Regions from separate parts of the Homo sapiens genome. Here regions 1 and 2 are each linked to region 3. Evidence: promoter capture Hi-C in 16 types of primary human blood cells and fetal thymus (Javierre and others, 2016). All regions are on one chromosome and are shown on one strand. The core of a region is centred on a gene start or on the middle of the fragment in contact, and the rest is flanking DNA. Distances in the headings are between cores, read along the strand shown. Region 1 holds the start of ZNHIT6 (zinc finger HIT-type containing 6). Region 2 holds the start of CTH (cystathionine gamma-lyase). Region 3 holds the start of ACADM (acyl-CoA dehydrogenase medium chain).

Region 1 (2,968 bases), core at 469-2,968, about 10 Mb before region 3:
TCCAAACCTAATCTTAGAGGTAACGTATTACTTCTGCTGTATGCTATCAGTGACACAGACCAATCCTGGGATGATGCAGGAGCAGTCTACACATTGGTCTGAACACTGTGGGGGTGGAGAATCACTGGGGAACATACTGGTGCTTGTCTACCACAAACCTATATCCATAATATATGAAGAACTACTACAATTTGATAATAAAAGACGTCAATTAAAAATGGGCAAAAGATCTGAATAAACATTTCATTAAAGAAAATATCCAAATGGCCAGTTGGCAGATGAAAAGATGTTCAACATCATTAGTCATTAAAGAAATGTAAATTCTCAATGACGTACCCCTACACATCTATAATCAAATAACTGATAATACTAAGAATTGGCCGGGATGTAGAGAAATAGGAACCCTCAGCCAGTAGGAATGTAAAATGGTATAGCTACTTTGGAAAACAGTTTGGGCATTTCTTTAAAAATTAACATAAATTTATATGGCCCAGCAATTCCACTCCTAGTTATTTACTTAACGGGAAATGTAAACATGTCCACACAAAGACTTGCATATGAATGTGGAAGCAGAATTATTCGTAATAGCCCAAACTGGAAACAAGCCAAATGCCCACCAACTGGTACATGCATGAAAAAACGTGCCACATTCATACAATGCAATGTTATTCAGCAATACCGGGCATTAGGCACTTTCGCCTAATATATTTATGATGTTCTCTGAGAGAATCCTGCAGAATGCTGGGAATGGGGAATAGCCTGACGCAGGCTGTTACTTAGAAAGAATGGAAAGAAAAATTAATGCCCTCTTTCCTACTTGAAACCCATCATGATTCCCAGTTATACACTGAGTTTGTGTCTGTCACTGACAGTTGATTCCTATGCATGATCTCATATTATCTTCGCAATGACACTGGGAGATTTATATTAATAATACCATGCTCCCTAGTTTATAGCTTCAAGAAACTAAAGCTTGCAAAGGTGTAACATCAGGTGTGTCCTTTTTCATACAAGATTGGATTTAATGGTTAACACAGATAAGGGTGGGTTTTCCCATTTCCAGAGTGTAAGGGTTTCGCTTCTCTCCCTCTGCCGGTCTCCTCCACTGTTTACACCCAGTAGGGCGTGGAGGGTGGCCTAGGGTGTGGCCCAGGAGGCTTCCCTAAGGGAAGGGGGTGGTGGAAACCAGGCGGTTTGAAGCCCATCAGGATTCCCAGTTATATATCGAGTTTGTGTCCGTCACTGCTAGTTGATTTCCATGCATGATCTCATATAATCTTTGCAATGACACTGGGAGATTTATATTAATAATACCATGGTCCCTAGTTTATAGCTTTAAGAAACTAAAGCTTGGAAAGGCCTAATAACATCAGGTGTGTCCTCCATTTTCATGCAAGATTGGATTTAATGGTTAACACAGATTAGGGTGGGTTTTCCCACTTCCAGAGTGTAAGGGTTTCGCTTCTCTCCCTCTGCCGGTCTCCTACACTCTTTACACCCAGCAGGGCGTGGAGGGTGGCCCAGGGAGTGGCCCAGGAGGCTTCTCTAAGGGAAGAGGGTGGTGGAAACCAGGAAGGAGACGAGAACCCCAGCGGGCAAGTCACGCAGTTACGCTTGTTCGCCCAGAGAATCCGGCAGGGCCTCCGCAGAGCCGTAAAGAGCTCTACAAGTCGTGAAGGGGCGAGGCGCAAAAGCGTAGCTTTACGGCGATTCGAGCAGTCGCGTCAAGCAGGCTATTCCGGGTTTGTGGCTGCTTGGCTCCACACGTGGGCCGCCGTAGGTATTCCGACCGGTAATTCCTCCTATTGGTGTGCAGCAGCCACATTGAAGGATAGAGTGGCAGCAGAGGCCAAGGATCGTGAGTTGATGGAGTTTGCTGCTGAAAATGAAGGGAAGTCTGGGGGAGGTCTCCACAGCGTAGCTGAGGGGGTGCGGCTAAGTCCAGAGCCTGGCAGGGAGGGAGTAAGGGACTTAGCAGGGGCGGAGGAGTTCGGCGGCGGAGAGGAGGGGACAGGGCTGACAGGGATAAAGGAGATAGGGGATGGAGAGGAAGGAAGTGGACAAAGGCCAGAGGAAATACCGATGGACCTAACGGTAGTGAAGCAGGAAATTATAGACTGGCCAGGTACAGAAGGCAGGTTGGCTGGCCAGTGGGTAGAACAGGAGGTGGAGGATAGGCCTGAGGTGAAGGATGAGAACGCAGGCGTATTGGAGGTGAAGCAGGAGACGGATAGTAGTTTAGTGGTAAAAGAAGCGAAGGTGGGTGAACCAGAGGTAAAGGAAGAGAAGGTAAAGGAAGAGGTAATGGACTGGTCAGAAGTGAAGGAAGAGAAGGATAACTTGGAGATAAAACAGGAGGAGAAGTTTGTTGGTCAATGCATAAAAGAGGAATTGATGCATGGAGAGTGTGTAAAAGAAGAGAAGGATTTCCTGAAGAAAGAAATCGTGGATGATACAAAGGTGAAAGAAGAGCCTCCGATAAATCACCCGGTGGGCTGCAAGCGGAAACTGGCCATGTCAAGGTAGGGCATGGGGGATTCCATTTAGGGGAATAAAGCTGTGGAGTCCTCATGTCTAGAGTGAAGGAAACCACACTATCAGGAGAAGGTGGAATAATGAAAAATGAGCACAAGTTTGGGTTTCTGGAGTCAGACGGCGTTCGCGGGGGTGGGTTGGGAAGTGGAGGGTGTTGTACATGACAACACAACAAATTCAGTGAAAATACATGAAATTAGTAGTGTCCAATGGGTAATGGTCAAGTTAGGAAAGTGGAAATTCTGGGGACCAAAAGATCAGTTGGAACTGGATCTGGCTTGACTTAATATGCTCTTTACTCGGTATTCCTTTGAGAGAGAATAGAGATGAGAAAGTCTAATAAAACTAACAATGACAAAGTAGATTAAGTTAAAACTAGGCAAAAATACACTTGACCTCAATTATCAAGCTTCTTCATGGGTGCTGTGAATAT
Region 2 (3,328 bases), core at 1-2,500, 5.3 Mb after region 3:
AGCGATTCTCCTGCCTCAGCTTCCCGAGTAGCTGAGATTACCCGCCACCATGCCCAGCTAATTTATTTATTTTTAGTAGAGATGGGGTTTCACCATGTTGGCCAGGCTGGGCTCGAACTCCTGTCCTCAGGTGATCCACCCGCCTCAGCCTCCCAAAGTGCTGGGATTACAGGCGTAAGCCACTGCACCCGGTCATGAGTTGTGTTCTTAATCACTAAGCCACAGTGCTTAAATGACGCAATAGGCTAAATTGTTACTAGCATTATTAGAGATAGCATAGTGTAGCTGAGTGCCTAGGAGTTGGTTCCTAAAGCAACCTCAAGTTTCTAAAGTTTGAATTCCATCTCCAATACTTACTAGTCTAAGGCTAGTTACTTAACTCCCTAAATCTCAGCTTCTTTATTGGGAAAAAATGAGAATTCGGTTCAGACTAGGGTTGTTGTTAGGATTAGATGAGACAATACATGTAATACACATGATATATACGAGCACGTATTTGGCATATAGTAGGTACTCAATAACTATTCATACAGCTACTGGAAACAATCTTAATTCTAGTCAAGTTATCAGACCCTTAATATTTTTTAAGCTGACTCCGTACTACATCTTTAAAATTTATGCTGCTAAAGGTAACTCAAAAAAGTTATGACCTTCGATTTTTAATTGCAAATTTGTCAAAATCACCTGAATTTCAGGCCAAATCTAAATGGCAAGCTGGACAAACGGCTCCTTCCAGTCCTGCTTATCAAAAGAAATACGATCACTGGACCATCCGATACAAAGCTGTGCTGCAAGAATTACAGTGTAGAAACATCTTTCGGTTGCCTTCCTAATTTATAAGTCATATTATAAATTACTTACATGCCTTTCAAATTCATAAGCCGTATCTCTTTTACCGCCCAACTGTGGACAGCCCCAGACAGACCCAGCTCACCGAGTGCTGGCCAGGCGCCCCTTGCTTGAACGTGGTGGACAGTGAGATGGGGGGCACTACAGCCCTGGAGGTCCATTGCTCTGGATCCTGGCCCACATGGATCGCCTGCGTGGCGAAATGTTGGAAGTGTGGCAGGAAACCTTGTGAGGAGGCGTCTTTTTCCTGCATGCTGAACCGCGAAAGAAGAAGAGAGGAAAAGAACACCGAAGATATAACCAGTCGAAGCCGGGTGTCCGGGGTTGGGAGAGACAGAAGGATCAGGCGAGAAGGAGCTAAAGCACGCAGGTAGAGCCGACGGCGAGCGCACTAAAGCGGCACACAGCGATTGTTGGGGTGGATTTTATTAGCGGGTCTGCAGTCTCACGATCACAGTGGGGCGGGACCAGCGCGGCCCATTGAGCGCAGGCCCGACGCGTCTCCCGCTCCTTATTGGCTGACAGCAGAGGCGTTGCCTGAAACGTCACCGCGACCGCCCCACCCAGTGCACAAAGCGGAGTGAAGCTGGAGTCCCTGGGTCCAAGTGGTGTTAGTCCCTGCGGGCGAAATTCCTGAGTACCCGTCCTGAGGAGGCTGCCATGCTGGCTCCTGAGAGCCACCCGGGCGTCTCTGTGACCTCAGGCCGGAGGTTCGCCCGAGACGTGGCGGAAAGCTGGCTTAGTGTTGAAACCGGGTAACTGTAAACAGACCACATAAATAGCCTTCTTTTACTGTGGTAGTTACCTCTGACCACCATCCTTTGCCCTGAGGGCGGTGCTAAAAGACGTAAGCCACAACGTGGAGGGTGGTTAAGAAAACAGTTGCCCAAGCCGCCCAGTTTGCAGCTTGGATTCTCATCAGTCACAGCTTGCGTTTTAGGTACACTGAACTCTGTAATGACCCAGTGCTTACGATGACGAAACGATGACTAGAAGTGAAGGTTAAATTGTTCGTAAGACATAACGAAGCTACTGTAGTGAGGACGTCTATGCACAACTCTGGCAGCTTCCTAAAAGTTAGTCAATCTTGAGCTTTTTCAAGCATCATTATCTTCTTTTAAAGTACAGAGAGAAACTCCCCCTAATGAGAAAGATAATGTGGCTTTGAAATACTTACTGGAGCCTAACATCCTTACACAAAATGCTTTTGCTTTTACACAACAGCAACATCCCTGCAGGAAAAAGGATTGTTTACCACTCACCTGCGCCCAGAGCCCTACTCTCAGAAGAATCACTGCTTTAAAACAAAAATCTCCCTGTTCCCTAAGCAATACAGACTTGACCTACTTACTATTGTGGCTGTTTTCTAGCACCAGGAAATTTGGGGATATTTCTGTTGTTGCAAAATATTCGCTAAAGATCTAAAACTTTATTAAACAAATTAAGAACAAGGAGAATAAGGAATAAACAGCTCTTAAAATTTACAGTTTGAAAGAAAGATATGAAGAGAAAGAATGAGGCAATTTGCTTTTCAAATTAGCTTTAGGGACATTTAACCCATTAAGCACTAGAGGAGTGGTGCTTGAGGGCCTACAAGCTTTTAGAATCCTACCAAACTTTGTATGGCTGGGGGAAAAAATGGATAGACTTCAAAACACTAATGTATATTAATACATATTTAATTAATATTTTTCTTTTAAAAATATAACATCAACTGCAACTCACCTCAATATTTATGTATAACTATAGGTGGGTATTTTTGTGTAATATGATATGGCATTTAGGGGCCAAAAGGGTCTAAAACAGTTCCAATTAGTTTTACCTCCTAATATTTGCTGACAAACCCTGAGTTGCATAAATACAGACATTTTATTTAGTGTACTGTAATAAAGAATCATTCAGAAGACAGCACTAGGCTGGGTGCATTGGCTAACGCCTATTAATCCCAGCACTTTGGGAGGCCGAGGTGGGCGAATCACCTGAAGTCAAGAGTTCGAGACCAGCCTGGCCAGCAGGGTGAAACCCCATCTCTACAAAAAACACAAAACTTAGCTGGGCGTAGTGGTGCACACCTGTAATCCCAGCTCCTTGGGAGCCTGAGACAGGAGAATCGCTTGAACCCAGGAGGCGGAGGTTGCAGTGAGCCGAGATCATGTCACTGCACTACAGCCTGGGCCACAGAGTGAGACTCCATCTCAAAAAAAAAAAAAAAAAAGATAGCACCCAATACAAATGCTATAAATCAGGCCTTTTTTACTCTCTTAAACTGAGAAAACTTTATTGGATGCAGCTTAATATGTATCAAGGATTTAAAATATCCCCTTTCTATGACTCAGCAATTTCTTTTGTAGAAAATTTTACTTGCAGGAATTTATCCTTTAGATATATTCTTAATATGTGTACAGAGATGAGCAAGGATGCTTTTTAAACCTACGTTACTATTTTTAATAGCAAAAGAGTGAAAAATGGCTTAATTATT
Region 3 (3,187 bases), core at 364-2,863:
TCTCCGCTCACTGCAGACTCAGCCTCCTGGGATTACAGGCATATGCTACCATGCCCAGCTAATTTTTCCTATTTTTAGTAAAGACAGGGTTTCCCTGCTTTGGCCAGGCTGGTCTCGAACTCCTGGCCTTAAGTGATCAACCCGCCGAGGCCTCCCAAGGTGCTAGGATCACAACCGTGAGCCGCCGCACCTGGCCAACCGAGGGAATTTAAATAGGGAAAAAGTCACTTCACATGTGACTGTTCAGGAAAATATGTTACATAGAACAAAGTGCAAAGGTTGCTATTACCAGAATACAATGCCCATCAACCTGTTAATTACATAACAAAGTTAGCCAGTTAATTAGAGAGGTGGTTTGCAAATAGAAAACAGAAACAGCACGGGATCTGGAGTTATAATTGCTGAATGTGAATCTAGGTTCCACAACCATATTTGTGGCCGTAGACAGGTTTACAAACTGCTTATAGCTTCCGTTCAAAACCAAAAAATGGGACTAATCTCACTGCGTATTTTCGGACGATTAAAGTACGATAATGTTTTGAAAGCCTAATGCTATATAACTATTGGTTTTATTACTTCGGGCTCTCTGTCTAGAACAATGAAATTCCAAATATCGAAACAGCACCACTAGAATTGAACACTTTTGTGCATTTCTTGGGAATATAAGAGTGTCAGTTTTATGGGTTAAAGAAGAGAAAAAGGGTGTAAGTTTTCTATATCAGGTTTTTTTTAGATCCTTCCTTGGAGGTTGAGAAATCTGCTTTTCTGGTGTAGGAGTTAAAAATAGCTGAAATCTCCCAATTTCTGCCTTCACTGCACATTAACTTGCATAACACCAGCAAAACATGGGCAGCAATTCTTTAGGATTATTCTAAAACCGCAGCTTTTTTGGTCCAAGACATAACTTTAACTTAATTTTAAGTGACATCTAAATGGCAGTGGTGTGAACATATCAAGAATATTTAAGATACCAAAATTCATCTAGTGACAAACTTATTTAGAATCTATTAAGATCCAATACTAGAATATACACACAAGTTCACATAAAATTCTGCAGGTTTTTTTTTTACTTTTTTTTTTCCCGTAAGCAACGTGGAAACGTTACAACGAAAAGCTTATTAAACATTAAGTATTTCAAGGAGTAGCTGCTCCATTTTTCTTTTTCCCGTGGTTCTGACACAGAGACGGGGTCACTTTGGAAAAAGGTGGGATTCCCGCGGTAAATATTTGGAGGGTTTACCAGAGAAAGAAAAACGATATTCTAAAGAGAGGATGCCGGCTATAACGGGGTCGCCTGACGGGAGGATACGGAAAATGAAACGCTAGGCTACGTTCCGTCCGGTGGTAGGAGGCGTGAAAGCAGGTTGGGGGCCCCTAGGCTGGCTCCTTCCTCAGCCCGACTTCCCACTCCTCCCGGCCGCACCTATTTTTGGCCCAGGGCCCCCTGCTCCGACACCACAATACCCATGTTCCAGCCCCACCGCACCGCTGGGCTCCCTCTCACCCTGCAGCATCGCCCGAACCCCGCTGCCATGTTGGCTCCCGTTCCGGCCACTCGGACAATAATACACGGGTCACGGCCTTGACATACTCCCCGAACGCGGGACTCCTCTGGTCCCGCCCACTGGAGCCCGTGGGCGGGATGGGGCGGGGCGGGAAGAGGCGGTTGGGCTGCGGAAGGACGGGGCGCTGCGCTAGGCGGGGTGGCAGCGGTCCCCGGCGCCGGGTAGCCAACGCATGCTCCGTGACCCTTGCGTGCGCCGTCGCTGCGACCTGGGGAGGGGTCGCATCCCCTCTCCGGGCAATCTCTGATAGTCCTGGTTTGGTTTTCTGCGTTTCCACCTCTGGCCCTCTCTGTGGGACGCCGAGGCTGACCGCAGCGCGGAAAGAGAGCCAGGGCGGGGGAGGGGGACGGCGGCGGGGCTGGGAGGGCCCGGTTGCGCTGAACGGTGGGGGGACTTGCGGCGCGGTGCAGGACGGGAACCTGGGTTAGAGGGCGTGGCTGGGGCCTGGAGGGAGAGCGGCCCCCGTGGTCAGCCTTCACCTTTACCCGGAGAGAACGGTCAAACCCAGATCGTGTCTGCTTGGCGGATTCAAAGTATTAGTACATTTTGCTCTCAAATGCCCTACCTAAAGCGAAAGCATACTTGTGTTTCCTTAAAATTTAAAAGAGAATTTAATTGTTTAGGTAAATTTGACCTTTCCGCGTATTCCCAAGGCTGTTTATGACTTGTCCGCTGATGTGGTGTCCTTGGATATGCGGGTGCAATCCGAGGCTGTCCAAAGCTCCTGGTTCAGCGAATGATGGAAGTGAATGTCTCCCTGAGGAATTCTACCTGGAGTCACTTTCTCTTCCAGTGAGACCCTGAGTTTTGAGATGGTAGCTTATACTAAATCTTATACTAACTTAACATTTTCTTTTGCCCAATAAAGGTCACCCATAAATTCATCTAATTTAGCTGTTAAAATTCTATATCCTGTTATTGTATTCCCCTACTTTGTCTTCTGGGAATTTATAGTGTGTTAGTCCTAGGTACAAGGCAGAATGTTAATTAAGCGCTATATTCAAAGTGAAAGTACCAGGAAAATTCGGAAAAGGGATAAAGAGCTGAGTTTGTCCTGGTATAGGCAAGAAAGCCTTCAAAGTGGTGGTGGTAAGTAAAACACAAAGCGGACTCTTAAAGATGATTAGGAATTGTCTATTCATGTCTCCTTTGTTCCAATTTCTTATTCTGAACATTTTAAACACAGAAAAGATGAACGAAAAGCACAAAATCACCCATATGCCTATTGTAACCCCTTCTTACTGTACACGTGGCTGGCAGAGAAGCGAAGATGGAGCCCTCATCTTAAACATGTCTAGTCGGTAGTTCCTGCCACCATTCACCCAAGCAAGCTACCCCCTTGTTTGTCTGTGCCTGCAGCTCGACTTCACAGGCTGCTCTTAGAAAAGGATTTGGGGCTGCTTTTCATTAAAAAGAAAAGCCTTACTGATGTTGGGAACGGGCGCTCAGTGTTGCAAAAATCAACACTGAGACAAAGGAGCTCTTAGCAAGGCTAGTTTACTTTCTGCAGAAAGGTTGCCGCTCGCTAGTAGTCTTGCCACGAGAGCACACACGCATAAAGGAGACAGGGTCATTTATAACCTGACACGTGCACCCTACTACCGTGTCCGGTTTCCATTGGC

What was found. Contacts are between HindIII fragments. The CHiCAGO score rates a contact against its expected background, and 5 or more counts as called.
Region 1: the fragment with the promoter of ZNHIT6 here is called in contact with the fragment with the promoter of ACADM in region 3 in 1 of 17 cell types (fetal thymus); the score reaches 6.5 in fetal thymus.
Region 2: the fragment with the promoter of CTH here is called in contact with the fragment with the promoter of ACADM in region 3 in 3 of 17 cell types (non-activated CD4 T cells, total CD8 T cells and total B cells); the score reaches 7.2 in non-activated CD4 T cells.

What each region holds. Positions count from the first base shown.
Region 1 is chr1:85,707,183-85,710,150 of GRCh38, reverse strand. ZNHIT6 (zinc finger HIT-type containing 6) reads left to right here and starts at 1,718. Exons shown (of 10, transcript NM_017953.4): 1 at 1,718-2,522. The coding sequence starts at 1,867. RefSeq lists enhancers at 795-1,627, 1,566-1,925, 1,628-2,461. The HindIII fragment of the contact is 1,595 bases long and covers 1,352-2,946 here.
Region 2 is chr1:70,409,190-70,412,517 of GRCh38, reverse strand. CTH (cystathionine gamma-lyase) reads right to left here and starts at 1,250. Exons shown (of 12, transcript NM_001902.6): 1 at 935-1,250. The coding sequence starts at 1,102. RefSeq lists a silencer at 1,210-1,359 and an enhancer at 1,420-1,679. The HindIII fragment of the contact is 3,560 bases long and covers 1-2,448 here.
Region 3 is chr1:75,723,135-75,726,321 of GRCh38, reverse strand. ACADM (acyl-CoA dehydrogenase medium chain) reads right to left here and starts at 1,613. Exons shown (of 12, transcript NM_000016.6): 1 at 1,505-1,613. The coding sequence starts at 1,534. It also overlaps a transcript of SLC44A5 not described here. RefSeq lists enhancers at 1,398-1,487, 2,138-2,227 and silencers at 1,618-1,667, 1,718-1,767. The HindIII fragment of the contact is 3,396 bases long and covers 1,117-3,187 here.